4 separate regions of the Homo sapiens genome follow, and regions 2, 3 and 4 are each linked to region 1. Evidence: promoter capture Hi-C in 16 types of primary human blood cells and fetal thymus (Javierre and others, 2016). All regions are on one chromosome and are shown on one strand. Each heading gives the region's core, a stretch centred on a gene start or on the middle of the fragment in contact. The rest is flanking DNA. Distances are from core to core; before and after follow the strand shown. Region 1 holds the start of SLC16A13 (solute carrier family 16 member 13). Region 2 holds the start of TP53 (tumor protein p53). Region 3 holds the start of FXR2 (FMR1 autosomal homolog 2). Region 4 holds the start of TNFSF13 (TNF superfamily member 13).

Region 1 (2,829 bases), core at 187-2,686:
CTGGCCCCTAGCACCATTTTATAGTAATTCTTCCTTTTACACTCCAGTCCCATTAGCCCTGGGCTTCTGGGCTTGTATACTTGGTTTCATCTTTTTTTTTTTTTTTTTTGAGACAGAATCTTGCTCTGTCGCCCAGGCTGGAGTGCAGTGGTGCGATCTTGGCTCACTGCAACCTCCGCCTCCCGGGTTCAAGCGATTCTCCTGCCTCAGCCTCCCGAGTAACTGGGATTAGCGCCACCAGGCCCGGCTAATTTTTGTATTTTTGTAGAGACGGGGTTTCACCATGTTGGCCAGGCTGGTCTCAAACTCCTGACCTCGTGATCCACCCGCCTCGGCTTCCCAAAGTGCTGGGATTACAGGCGTGAGCCACCGTGCCCGGCCAGGTTTCATCATCCTTGAATTTCCTAATTCCTCACCATGTTTGTCGCTTTAGTCATTCCTATTAAGAATTCCCTTCTGGGTACAGGTGCTAGCTAAACTTTCCCTCAGCTTCTCCCCGAACCCTTTGGAAGGAGCAGGAAGGAGGTGAACATCCAACGATCTAAGCATTTGACTCTCCTGCCCTTGTGCAGGCTCTCACCTGACAGCAACCCAATACTCAGGTATAGGTGGGTCAAGGAAGTAGCAAAAGAGGCGAGCAGCATCCCCAGCGCAGCCAAGATGCCTCCAGTCATCACCACGGGCCTGGGCCCGAACTTCGTGCTCAGGGCACTGCCTACCGGGCCTGAGGAAGTGGAAGGGGCGCTGCGAGAAGATCTCAGGGGTCTCCCCCCCAGCATCTCCCGCCCCTCGCCCTTCCACTTCCCAGTCGCCGCATTCCCTCTCCCTTCCGAGGGTCGCAGTCCGCCAGATCCAGGCGCCGCACTCACTCCCAAACTGCTGCACCGCGATTCCTATGGAGGCGATCCAGGAGACGCGCGCTGCCTGCTCCTCAAACGCCGCCACAAACTCCACGAAGAAGACCCCAAAGGAGCGGAGCACCCCAAACACAAGCGCCGACTGGAAGAACGCTGAGAGCACCACCACCCATCCCCAGCCCCCGTCGGGGGGCTCTGTCCTGCGCGCCATCTAAGCGGTAACAGGGCTGCTGCCACCCAGAGCCTCTGCAGGAGCCGGGTTCTGGACGCCGCACCTCTGCACACCCACCCCCGCTGCCGGGTGGCTCGGGGCCGAGAGGGGTTGGAGAGGCAGGTAGAGAGGAAGGGCCCGACGAGGCGGCGAGAGGCCCCTGCACCTTTTCCCAAGGCGGGGCGATATAGGACTGAAGACCTGGCCCGCGCTGGCCGGGCCAGAGTCTCCCGGGGGCGTGGTTCCGCGAGCTCGGAGCTGAGCTAGTTCAAGCCGGGGCCGGATCGGTCCCGGTTCGGTGTTCGGCTGGGAGCCAGAGGGTGGAACTGAGTTTGGGCCCCACCCCTGGAGCGCGCCAGTTTCCGTGTAGATGATCTATTTTATCACTGGGGTGTCCGGGCCGGGCCACCCTGGAGCTCGCCAATGAGGACGCGGGGCTCCCGGGCAGGGGCGGAACGAGAAGGGCAGGGCGGGATTTAGGCATTGTTGGGGACCAGCAGTGAATGGGCGCATGCGTAAGGAGGGGCGTTAGGAGGCTGACTAGGTAGGGCCCCACGTGACGCGGGGACTGCCAGGAAGCTTCCGTCTCCTCTTCACCTAGCGGGCCAAGTCATCCCCGTTTCAGCACCCAGAGCCACACGGAAGGGTTAGTGGTGGGTAAACTGGGTCTGGAGAGGAGAGGACTCTCTTGCTTTAATGAGGGGTCCAGGAATTGCAAGGCCCTGTTGGGGGTAGGGGAGGGGTTAGGAGATGAGACTCAAACGAAGTGTTTGGCGCAGCGCCTGAAGCCACTAACACGCAGCCCTAGGCACGCAGACCTAGAAGCCTGGATCCCTGAGAAGTTCAACGGCTAAGGGAAGAGAGAAGGGGAATGAGTTGGACTCCTGGCGTTCATTTCTGTAGTGGGAACTCGTTCCTGTCACTTCTGTTCCCACTAACAGGAAACCTACAGGTCACAGAGACCAAAAATAACTGAGGAGAGGAAGGGCGGCTGTAAGCTCACACAGGGCCCCACCAACACCACCTACCTCTTCCTCACTGGGGCTGGAACCTTTTCCTCTGCCCTCTAGTAACAACCACTTCCTAACCACCTTTTTTGATCTGATGGTGGGGTAGACTAAAGAGACAAACTATGACCCTGGCCACTGGAGCAGTCAGCCCCCTCTTACCCAAGTAGTCCTCAGGCCCCTAGCAAACACTCCCCAGTCCTTCCCAGTCTCCATAACACCAATGGCTTGGATTTCCTGTTCCTTCATTATAAGCCATACTTCCCAGGACCCTGACCTTGAAACCGTGGACTCAATGTTCACTCCCAGATTACTGGGGAAAGCAGCAAACAAGAAGTGGAGGCAGGGAGGGAGGTGTGTAGTCTTAAAAGACATATTGAGCCTTAAATAATTTTATATGTGGGAAATAAAAGTAATCATCAATAATACACATATATACTTTCTAAGAGTCAAAATGTCGGCTGGTGGGGAATATGCCAAAGATACAGAAATTGCTGTGGCTGTATTACATAGTGATTAAGAACTCGGGTCTTTAGAATCAGATCACAGTTCCAGTCTTTTATTTATTTATTTATTTATTTATTTATTTATTTATTTATTTATTTTGAGATGGAGTCTTGCTCTGTGGCCCAGGCTGGAGTGCAGTGGCATGATCTTGGCTCACTGCAACCTCCACCTCCCGGGTTCAAGTGATTCTCCTGCCTCAGTCTCCTGAGTTTCTGGGATTACAGGCTCCCACCACAACGCCCAGTTA
Region 2 (2,829 bases), core at 162-2,661, 650 kb before region 1:
ACCAAACTCTGTTTCCAGGGGAGTGGAGAGAGAAACTGGGTCCCCCTCCCGTAGCTCCTGGGACACAGCTGAGCCAGCCACAGGATCTGGGGACAACCGGGGCGGATCCCCCCTTTCGGGAGGCGGTGGCATCAGTTCAGAGTCCGCATTTTTATTCATCGGGGAAGCGTGGGGAGAAGGATGGGCTGGAGCTGGGTCCTGGTCTGAAGGACAGCAGTCCGGAGCTAACGGTTGAGTCTCCAAAGTCTTCATACTGCAGAGGAAGCACAGCGGAGATTAGCCTCAGCCAGGATGGCTTCGAAGTTCTCAGGGATCCGACGCAGAGCTAAAGAAACCCACCTGTGCTTCCCTCCTCTTCTGGGAGTAGGCAGAAGACTCCCGGGAGGAGAGGCGAACAGCGGACGCCAATTCTTTTGAAAGCACTGTGTTCCTTAGCACCGCGGGTCGCTACGGGCCTCTTGCTGTCGCGGGATTTCGGTCCACCTTCCGATTGGGCCGCCGCATCCCGGATCAGATTTCGCGGGCGACCCACGGAACCCGCGGAGCCGGGACGTGAAAGGTTAGAAGGTTTCCCGTTCCCATCAAGCCCTAGGGCTCCTCGTGGCTGCTGGGAGTTGTAGTCTGAACGCTTCTATCTTGGCGAGAAGCGCCTACGCTCCCCCTACCGAGTCCCGCGGTAATTCTTAAAGCACCTGCACCGCCCCCCCGCCGCCTGCAGAGGGCGCAGCAGGTCTTGCACCTCTTCTGCATCTCATTCTCCAGGCTTCAGACCTGTCTCCCTCATTCAAAAAATATTTATTATCGAGCTCTTACTTGCTACCCAGCACTGATATAGGCACTCAGGAATACAACAATGAATAAGATAGTAGAAAAATTCTATATCCTCATAAGGCTTACGTTTCCATGTACTGAAAGCAATGAACAAATAAATCTTATCAGAGTGATAAGGGTTGTGAAGGAGATTAAATAAGATGGTGTGATATAAAGTATCTGGGAGAAAACGTTAGGGTGTGATATTACGGAAAGCCTTCCTAAAAAATGACATTTTAACTGATGAGAAGAAAGGATCCAGCTGAGAGCAAACGCAAAAGCTTTCTTCCTTCCACCCTTCATATTTGACACAATGCAGGATTCCTCCAAAATGATTTCCACCAATTCTGCCCTCACAGCTCTGGCTTGCAGAATTTTCCACCCCAAAATGTTAGTATCTACGGCACCAGGTCGGCGAGAATCCTGACTCTGCACCCTCCTCCCCAACTCCATTTCCTTTGCTTCCTCCGGCAGGCGGATTACTTGCCCTTACTTGTCATGGCGACTGTCCAGCTTTGTGCCAGGAGCCTCGCAGGGGTTGATGGGATTGGGGTTTTCCCCTCCCATGTGCTCAAGACTGGCGCTAAAAGTTTTGAGCTTCTCAAAAGTCTAGAGCCACCGTCCAGGGAGCAGGTAGCTGCTGGGCTCCGGGGACACTTTGCGTTCGGGCTGGGAGCGTGCTTTCCACGACGGTGACACGCTTCCCTGGATTGGGTAAGCTCCTGACTGAACTTGATGAGTCCTCTCTGAGTCACGGGCTCTCGGCTCCGTGTATTTTCAGCTCGGGAAAATCGCTGGGGCTGGGGGTGGGGCAGTGGGGACTTAGCGAGTTTGGGGGTGAGTGGGATGGAAGCTTGGCTAGAGGGATCATCATAGGAGTTGCATTGTTGGGAGACCTGGGTGTAGATGATGGGGATGTTAGGACCATCCGAACTCAAAGTTGAACGCCTAGGCAGAGGAGTGGAGCTTTGGGGAACCTTGAGCCGGCCTAAAGCGTACTTCTTTGCACATCCACCCGGTGCTGGGCGTAGGGAATCCCTGAAATAAAAGATGCACAAAGCATTGAGGTCTGAGACTTTTGGATCTCGAAACATTGAGAACTCATAGCTGTATATTTTAGAGCCCATGGCATCCTAGTGAAAACTGGGGCTCCATTCCGAAATGATCATTTGGGGGTGATCCGGGGAGCCCAAGCTGCTAAGGTCCCACAACTTCCGGACCTTTGTCCTTCCTGGAGCGATCTTTCCAGGCAGCCCCCGGCTCCGCTAGATGGAGAAAATCCAATTGAAGGCTGTCAGTCGTGGAAGTGAGAAGTGCTAAACCAGGGGTTTGCCCGCCAGGCCGAGGAGGACCGTCGCAATCTGAGAGGCCCGGCAGCCCTGTTATTGTTTGGCTCCACATTTACATTTCTGCCTCTTGCAGCAGCATTTCCGGTTTCTTTTTGCCGGAGCAGCTCACTATTCACCCGATGAGAGGGGAGGAGAGAGAGAGAAAATGTCCTTTAGGCCGGTTCCTCTTACTTGGCAGAGGGAGGCTGCTATTCTCCGCCTGCATTTCTTTTTCTGGATTACTTAGTTATGGCCTTTGCAAAGGCAGGGGTATTTGTTTTGATGCAAACCTCAATCCCTCCCCTTCTTTGAATGGTGTGCCCCACCCCGCGGGTCGCCTGCAACCTAGGCGGACGCTACCATGGCGTGAGACAGGGAGGGAAAGAAGTGTGCAGAAGGCAAGCCCGGAGGTATTTTCAAGAATGAGTATATCTCATCTTCCCGGAGGAAAAAAAAAAAGAATGGGTACGTCTGAGAATCAAATTTTGAAAGAGTGCAATGATGGGTCGTTTGATAATTTGTCGGAAAAACAATCTACCTGTTATCTAGCTTTGGGCTAGGCCATTCCAGTTCCAGACGCAGGCTGAACGTCGTGAAGCGGAAGGGGCGGGCCCGCAGGCGTCCGTGTGGTCCTCCGTGCAGCCCTCCGGCCCGAGCCGGTTCTTCCTGGTAGGAGGCGGAACTCGAATTC
Region 3 (2,829 bases), core at 191-2,690, 580 kb before region 1:
CGCGCCCTGCCATTATTATTATTTTTAAAGAAGAAATTTCACTCATTGCCCAGGCTGGAGTGTGGTGGCATGATATCCACTCACTGCAACCTCCACCTTCCTAGGTTCAAGCGATTCTCCTGCCTCAGCCTCCTGAGTAGCTGGGACTCCTTCCGAGTAGCTGGAACTACCACGGCTAATTTTTTGTATTTTAGTAGAGACGAGGTTTCACCATGTTGGCCAGAATGGTCTCCATCTCCTGACCTCGTGATCCGCCCGCCCGTGATCTCGGCCTCCCAAAGTGCTGGGATTACAGGCCTGAGCCACCGCGCCCGTCCTAATTTTTGTATTTTTAGTAGAAACAGGGTTTCGCCCTGTTGAGGCTGGTGTCAAACTTTTGGGCTCAAGTGATCCACCGCCTGAGCCTCCTAAAGTGCTGGGATTACAGGAGTGAGCCACAGCGCCCGTCTGAAACTATTCTTAAAGCTTTCTTTCTATTCTTTCTTTCTTTTTTTTTTTTTTTTGAGACTGAGTCTTGCTCTGTCGCCCAGGCTGGAGTGCAATGGTGCGATCTTGGCTCACTGCAACTTCTGCCTCCCAGGTTCAAGGTAGTCTCCTGCCTCAGCCTCCCGAGTATCTGGGATTACAGGCGCGTGTCACCACGCCCGGCTAATTTTTGTATTTTATTAGATGCGGGGTGGGGGGGGGGGTGGGTTTCACCATTTTGGCCACGCTGGTCTCGAACCCCTGACCTCAGGTGATCCGAGGACCTCAGGTGATCCACCTGCCTCGGCCTCCCAGAGCGCTGGGATTACAGGCGTGAGCCACCGCGCCCGGCCAAAACTTTCATTGTATCACAATCTCTTCAAGGTAAGAGCCATGACTGTTAAATCTACTACAGTAGAGAGTTACAGATTCTTAAAATATCGGCGATGCATACGCGAAGAGGGTAAAGCTCAGCGCGTGCGCACCAAGCACCTTTTTCCTTGCGGCGACTCCTCTTCTTTTTTTTTTCTTTTTGGAGCGTGCGCACCAAGAAAGACAAAGGTGGGGAAAGTGACCAAGCAGTCGTTCAGGCGCATGCCCATCCCTAACTTGTCCAAGCCCGGTGGGGCCAGCGGCGGCGGAGTGGGTGTGGCCTGAGCGCTGTGTGACTGTGCGGACGCCGCCCAATCGGACTGAGCGAGCCCGGCCCCTCCCTCCCCCTGATTGGTTGGTTCTCAGTGTTGTGGGGCGGGGAAAGGAAGAGACGGGGTGGCTGGGCGGTGGAGCGGTGAAGAAAGAAGGCTAATCTTGTTCTGCGCAAGCGCTAGCAAGCGACCAGGAGGGGGAGTGAGAGAGTGAAAGGGAATGTGGAAGCCCCGATGCGCTAGCTGGCGCTAGCTGGGGCTCTAACCTTGACGCCTGCGCGGTGGCCCTCGGGGCCCCGCGCGCAGCGGGCGGGTGCCCGGTGCGCCTGCGCAGTAGGCGGCGGTGGCAGGGGGAGGTGGAGGCTGTGGAGCGGCAGCGGCAGCAGCGGGTCCCGGGACTGAGGCAGCAGCGGGGGCGGCGGCGGGCGGAAGCTGAGGTGACGAAGGCAGCGGCGGCGGCGGCCGTTTCCCTCACGGTGGCGGAGACCAAGGCGGCGGCGGCGGACGGGGAGCGGCCCGGCCCCGGCCCCCTGCTCGTTGGCTGTGGCAGGGCCGCCGTGGGGCCGGCCCGGCTCCCGCCCCCCGCGGCTCCCCCTCCGGCTCCTCCTCCGGGGAGACGCCGGGGGCCTGGCCCGGCCCGCACTCAGACTGCTGCTGCAGCCGCCGCCGGGGGAGTCGGAGGCGGTGGCGGCGCCATGGGCGGCCTGGCCTCTGGGGGGGATGTGGAGCCGGGACTGCCCGTCGAGGTGCGCGGCTCCAACGGGGCCTTCTACAAGGTGAGACGGCGCGCCGACTGGGGACGCCGGTCCTTAGCCCCCTCCCCTGGCCGGAGCAGGAACGCGTGGGGCGGGATCGAGCTTCTGGAGCTGAGTCCTGGCCCTTAGAATCTTGGACCCTTGCTCCAACCCGCAGCCTTCCCTGGGAGACCGCTTAGAGTGAACCCTGTTCCTCTTATTTTTGACCCCTCTAAGGCACCTGCACCTGCTTCTACCCCCATCTCCGGGAGAATGAACTTCAGGCCATTATTGTCCCTGGCTTGGCGCTCCCCGCTCCGCAGGAGAGACCCCTTTACCCAGCTTCTAATTGACTGTGTCCGTTGTCTGGTGGAAGACATACCTTAGACCTTAATCACATCTTCCCCACGATCCAAGCACATGGAGAATTGTCTTTCTTCCACACGGTCCCTTTGGGAAGGCCCTCTGTCCCGTAAAAGATCCTTTCATCTTCCTCAGAGAGGCCTCTGCCTACTGGCTCTGGAACACTCACCCCACTTTCATCTTATATTCCGGTTCCCAAGCCAAGGAGAAATGGTCAGATCCATTTACGACGTTTGGCATCTTTGACCTCAGGAACCCTGGGTTGGATCAGTCAAGTTGCTTCCCAGCCAGCCATAAGGTGGCATCTTTCGCAAGTCTCTCTCCCCACCACACCTTGATCTCAAGACCCACTGCTCTACCATTCTACTCAGGAATGGATTTGAGGTCTCACTTAGACCTCAGATACCTTCAGGTCATTCATATAGTTTCTTCGTCTTGAGGCATGTAAGCTTCATAGTCATAATCTCTAAAAGGATCTCTGAAAGGAAGCTTATGAGGTTCCCTTCTGTTTATCTTAAGATTTCCACTTCTTGAAGACTCTTGGCCAACTATCCCAGTTCGGGAATCTGACAACCTTTTTTGGAAGACGGGATCATCTTTCAAAGACCCTTCCTTATTTCACC
Region 4 (2,829 bases), core at 330-2,829, 520 kb before region 1:
GAAGAAAACAGGATGGCCTGGCTCAGTTCTGGGAGGCCTCAGGAGCGCTAACGAGGGAAGAAAGAAGGGTCTGCTGGGTTTGGTATGAATAGAGGGGTCAGGAACCCTCAGTAGGGGGCCAAAGAGGCCCTCTGTGAAGCTCAGAGTGTGGCTGGGGTTACCTGGCTATACAGCAGATAAACTCCAGCATCCTGGATTCGGACACCATATCCTTGGGCCTGTAGGCCTCTCCCACGCCTAAGAGCTGGTTGCCACATCACCTCTGTCACATCGGAGTCATCTGGAGGTGAGAGTGTGTCGGTCAGGACTTCTTGGCACTCTCAGGTGCTTTTTGGTTCTTTCCCTTTCACCTATAAGGACCCCTTGAGCCCAAGTGCCAGCCCGAGTTCCTGGTTATTGCCCCTCCCCAAAGCCATTATTTAAAATAGTGCTCACCCTTGGAGGTGGCGTTAATGGGAACCAGGTGCAGGACAGAGTGCTGCTCTGAGGAGAGAAGGAGGGAATCTCAGCCGCATCCACTTTCCCCCGTTGTGCTGTTGGCAGCCTCCACCCTCACCCTGACTCGGGCTTACAATCCCCACGCTGCTTGATCACCTCCCACCCCTGCTGCACCCTGGAAGCCTCACTCTTCTGTTTTTGGGTGAGCACTGCTCTCCTTTTCCGGGATCTCTCCCCATTCTCCCAGGCTTCCAGGGCATCGGAACTCTGCTCATGGAAAGAGGGTCAAGGTTAGGTTAAGATGCGAGGGTCCCAGCCAGCCTGCCTTCCCAGCCCTCCCCTGCCCCCGAGATGCCTCAGATCTCTCACGCACCTTTTCCCAGCACCCTGAGTGTTGGTGCTGGCTGCCCTCCAGGATTTGTTAGGTATGAGAAGCATTAACCTTTAACAGTTTCCTTTCCTGGAATGGCCGCGCCCCTGACTTCCAAACCGGAGACCCTCTCTTGCACCCCCTTGAAACTTTGCAGACCAGGAGGCCCAGAGACCCCCCATGCTAACCATCCTCTCCCAGACACCCTCCTCCCCTCACTCACCTGCTCCGGGAGACTCTGCCAGGGATACCCTTCCCCATTCTGGGAGGGGCCTCCTGTCCCCTGCAGCCGGCTCACCTCTCTCCTGAGGCTCTGCAGCTCTGTTTGTTGGGTCAGCAGAGCCATGGCACAAGCCACGGCCCCCAGAGCTGCCCCCCAACTCAACCAGAGGGCAACTGAGAGTGCCGGCTCTCTGACTGGGCCCCCCATGTTGCCTGGAGGCCCTTTGGGGGCTAGCAAGAAAGGAGATGAGGCTGGCATGAGCTGGGGACCCTGCCAACAGCTGTGGTTTCAAGAGTGGGGTAGCAAGGAGGTGGCGGGGCGGGTAAGGGTACGGGCAGTGGTGCAGAAGGGAAGAAGGTTGTTACGCAAGGAGAAATAAAAAGGAACTTGAAAATAAAAAGGAGGGAGGAGGAAAGCAAGCTAAGGGTACTGTTAGTGCTCCTGGCACTCCGTCGTGGGGCCAGCGTTGCCTTGAGACCCTCCACCCTCCCTCAGCCTCAGGAGAATTAGGTTCCAGTCCCTCTAGGAAGGACAGGGCTGCCAGTGACACCCAGGAGGAACAGGCAGTGCGCAGGAACCCTGGGGCGGCCCCAGGGTTGGGGGAGGGAAGGTTGGCTGGCTAGAGGGCATTGTGCCAGGAGCAGGATGGGGGGCCAAGCTGGGCAGTGTCCAGGGTCAGGGCGAGGGTGGAAGACCCTCGGGGTCAAGCACAGCAGAGATCGCTGGGGCAGTTCACTAGGGGTGACTGAAGGTGGGAAAGGAGGGGTGGGCTCGATGGGGAGGAGAACCAGGGGCACGGAAGCAAGAAACTGGCTGAGTTCTGGGGTTAAGGCTGGGCCGGGTGTGTTGGAATAAGGCCTGCACTACTCCCTGTGCTGAAATTGGCAAGCAGGACTTCCTGTTTCCCGAGAAAAGCTCTTACATAAGGCTCTGGACGAAGAGACAAAGCAGCGGCCTCAAGCCCCCCGGCCACTGCGGGATTCCTCCCCAGCACACAGGGTTCCGGGTTCCCGTGTGCCTGCTGACTCTCAGCCCCTCCTCCAGGCTGGCTCCTGCCCGCCCCACCTCCCAGCCAGGGCCTGTGCCAGCACCTGCTGAATGTCCGAGGCCACCAAGAGGAAGGGCCCCTGCTCCTCCCAGCCAGGAAGGGATTTCCCCGCAGGAGGAAGTCTGCCTCCTAGGCCAAGGAGGCCGCTTCTGCTGTACCTTGGGCGGAGGATTGATTTTTTTCCTGGGCAGTGTGCCTTCCTACCTCTGCTCCCACCTGGGGGCTGGAGGCATGGAGGTCCCCGCCCCCAAGCCTGAACATCATCCCGGAGTTCCAGCTGTGCCGCTCCGCAACGCCCCCCTTCACGTGGCCCCCAGCTACCCTGAGAGTGTCCCCTGAGCCCCAATAAAGAGAGAGACTATGACTTATTCTATTTAATATCCATTTATCAACATTTTGTCACAATAATAATAAAAATAATATCTGTTTTAAAAATCCACAGGGAATTCTCAAGGGAGGAGCTTGTCTTGTTTCTCGCCCCTCACATTTGGGAACTCCTGGCCTAGGCCCAGTCTCTTTGGCTTCCTGCCGCCAGGTCCAGCCCCTCTTAGTGCCTGAAGTGGGGTCTTCTGGACCCATCCTTGCCCACAGAGTACAGTGAACACAATGCCCTGGGGGTCTGTGGCCAGGGGGGAGTCGAGATCACTGGGGGCCTCAAAGGGTCAGGGATTGGGGAGCTAGTGAGGTGGAGAGTGGGCGGTGGGGGAGTTGTAAGATAAGAGTGGGAATACTGTATTTATGTGGGATGGA

What was found. Contacts are between HindIII fragments. The CHiCAGO score rates a contact against its expected background, and 5 or more counts as called.
Region 2: a contact is called between the fragment with the promoter of TP53 here and the fragment with the promoter of SLC16A13 in region 1, in 6 of 17 cell types (fetal thymus, naive CD4 T cells, naive B cells and 3 more). The highest score is 9.5, in fetal thymus.
Region 3: the fragment with the promoter of FXR2 here is called in contact with the fragment with the promoter of SLC16A13 in region 1 in 2 of 17 cell types (fetal thymus and M0 macrophages); the score reaches 6.0 in fetal thymus.
Region 4: a contact is called between the fragment with the promoter of TNFSF13 here and the fragment with the promoter of SLC16A13 in region 1, in 1 of 17 cell types (M0 macrophages). The highest score is 6.2, in M0 macrophages.

Annotation. Positions count from the first base shown.
Region 1 is chr17:7,034,622-7,037,450 of GRCh38, reverse strand. SLC16A13 (solute carrier family 16 member 13) reads right to left here and starts at 1,436. Exons shown (of 4, transcript NM_201566.3): 1 at 870-1,436; 2 at 581-724. The coding sequence starts at 1,068. RefSeq lists enhancers at 869-1,108, 1,839-1,888, 1,497-1,997. The HindIII fragment of the contact is 2,004 bases long and covers 1-1,649 here.
Region 2 is chr17:7,686,072-7,688,900 of GRCh38, reverse strand. TP53 (tumor protein p53) reads left to right here and starts at 1,411. Exons shown (of 11, transcript NM_000546.6): 1 at 1,411-1,524. It overlaps WRAP53 (WD repeat containing antisense to TP53), which reads right to left and starts at 424. Exons shown (of 11, transcript NM_001143992.2): 1 at 340-424; 2 at 1-253. The coding sequence starts at 252. RefSeq lists enhancers at 473-522, 1,321-2,520, 2,481-2,530, 1,994-2,541, 2,561-2,690. The HindIII fragment of the contact is 572 bases long and covers 1,094-1,665 here.
Region 3 is chr17:7,613,508-7,616,336 of GRCh38, reverse strand. FXR2 (FMR1 autosomal homolog 2) reads left to right here and starts at 1,440. Exons shown (of 17, transcript NM_004860.4): 1 at 1,440-1,885. The coding sequence starts at 1,805. It also overlaps a transcript of SHBG not described here. RefSeq lists silencers at 1,196-1,245, 1,356-1,885. The HindIII fragment of the contact is 2,190 bases long and covers 468-2,657 here.
Region 4 is chr17:7,557,500-7,560,328 of GRCh38, reverse strand. TNFSF13 (TNF superfamily member 13) reads right to left here and starts at 1,579. Exons shown (of 6, transcript NM_003808.4): 1 at 1,032-1,579; 2 at 627-705; 3 at 436-483; 4 at 162-280. The coding sequence starts at 1,289. It overlaps TNFSF12-TNFSF13 (TNFSF12-TNFSF13 readthrough), which reads right to left. Exons shown (of 11, transcript NM_172089.4): 7 at 627-705; 8 at 436-483; 9 at 162-280. It overlaps TNFSF12 (TNF superfamily member 12), which reads right to left. Exons shown (of 7, transcript NM_003809.3): 7 at 2,448-2,829. RefSeq lists enhancers at 1,531-1,580, 2,391-2,450, 2,036-2,829. The HindIII fragment of the contact is 8,242 bases long and covers 1-2,829 here.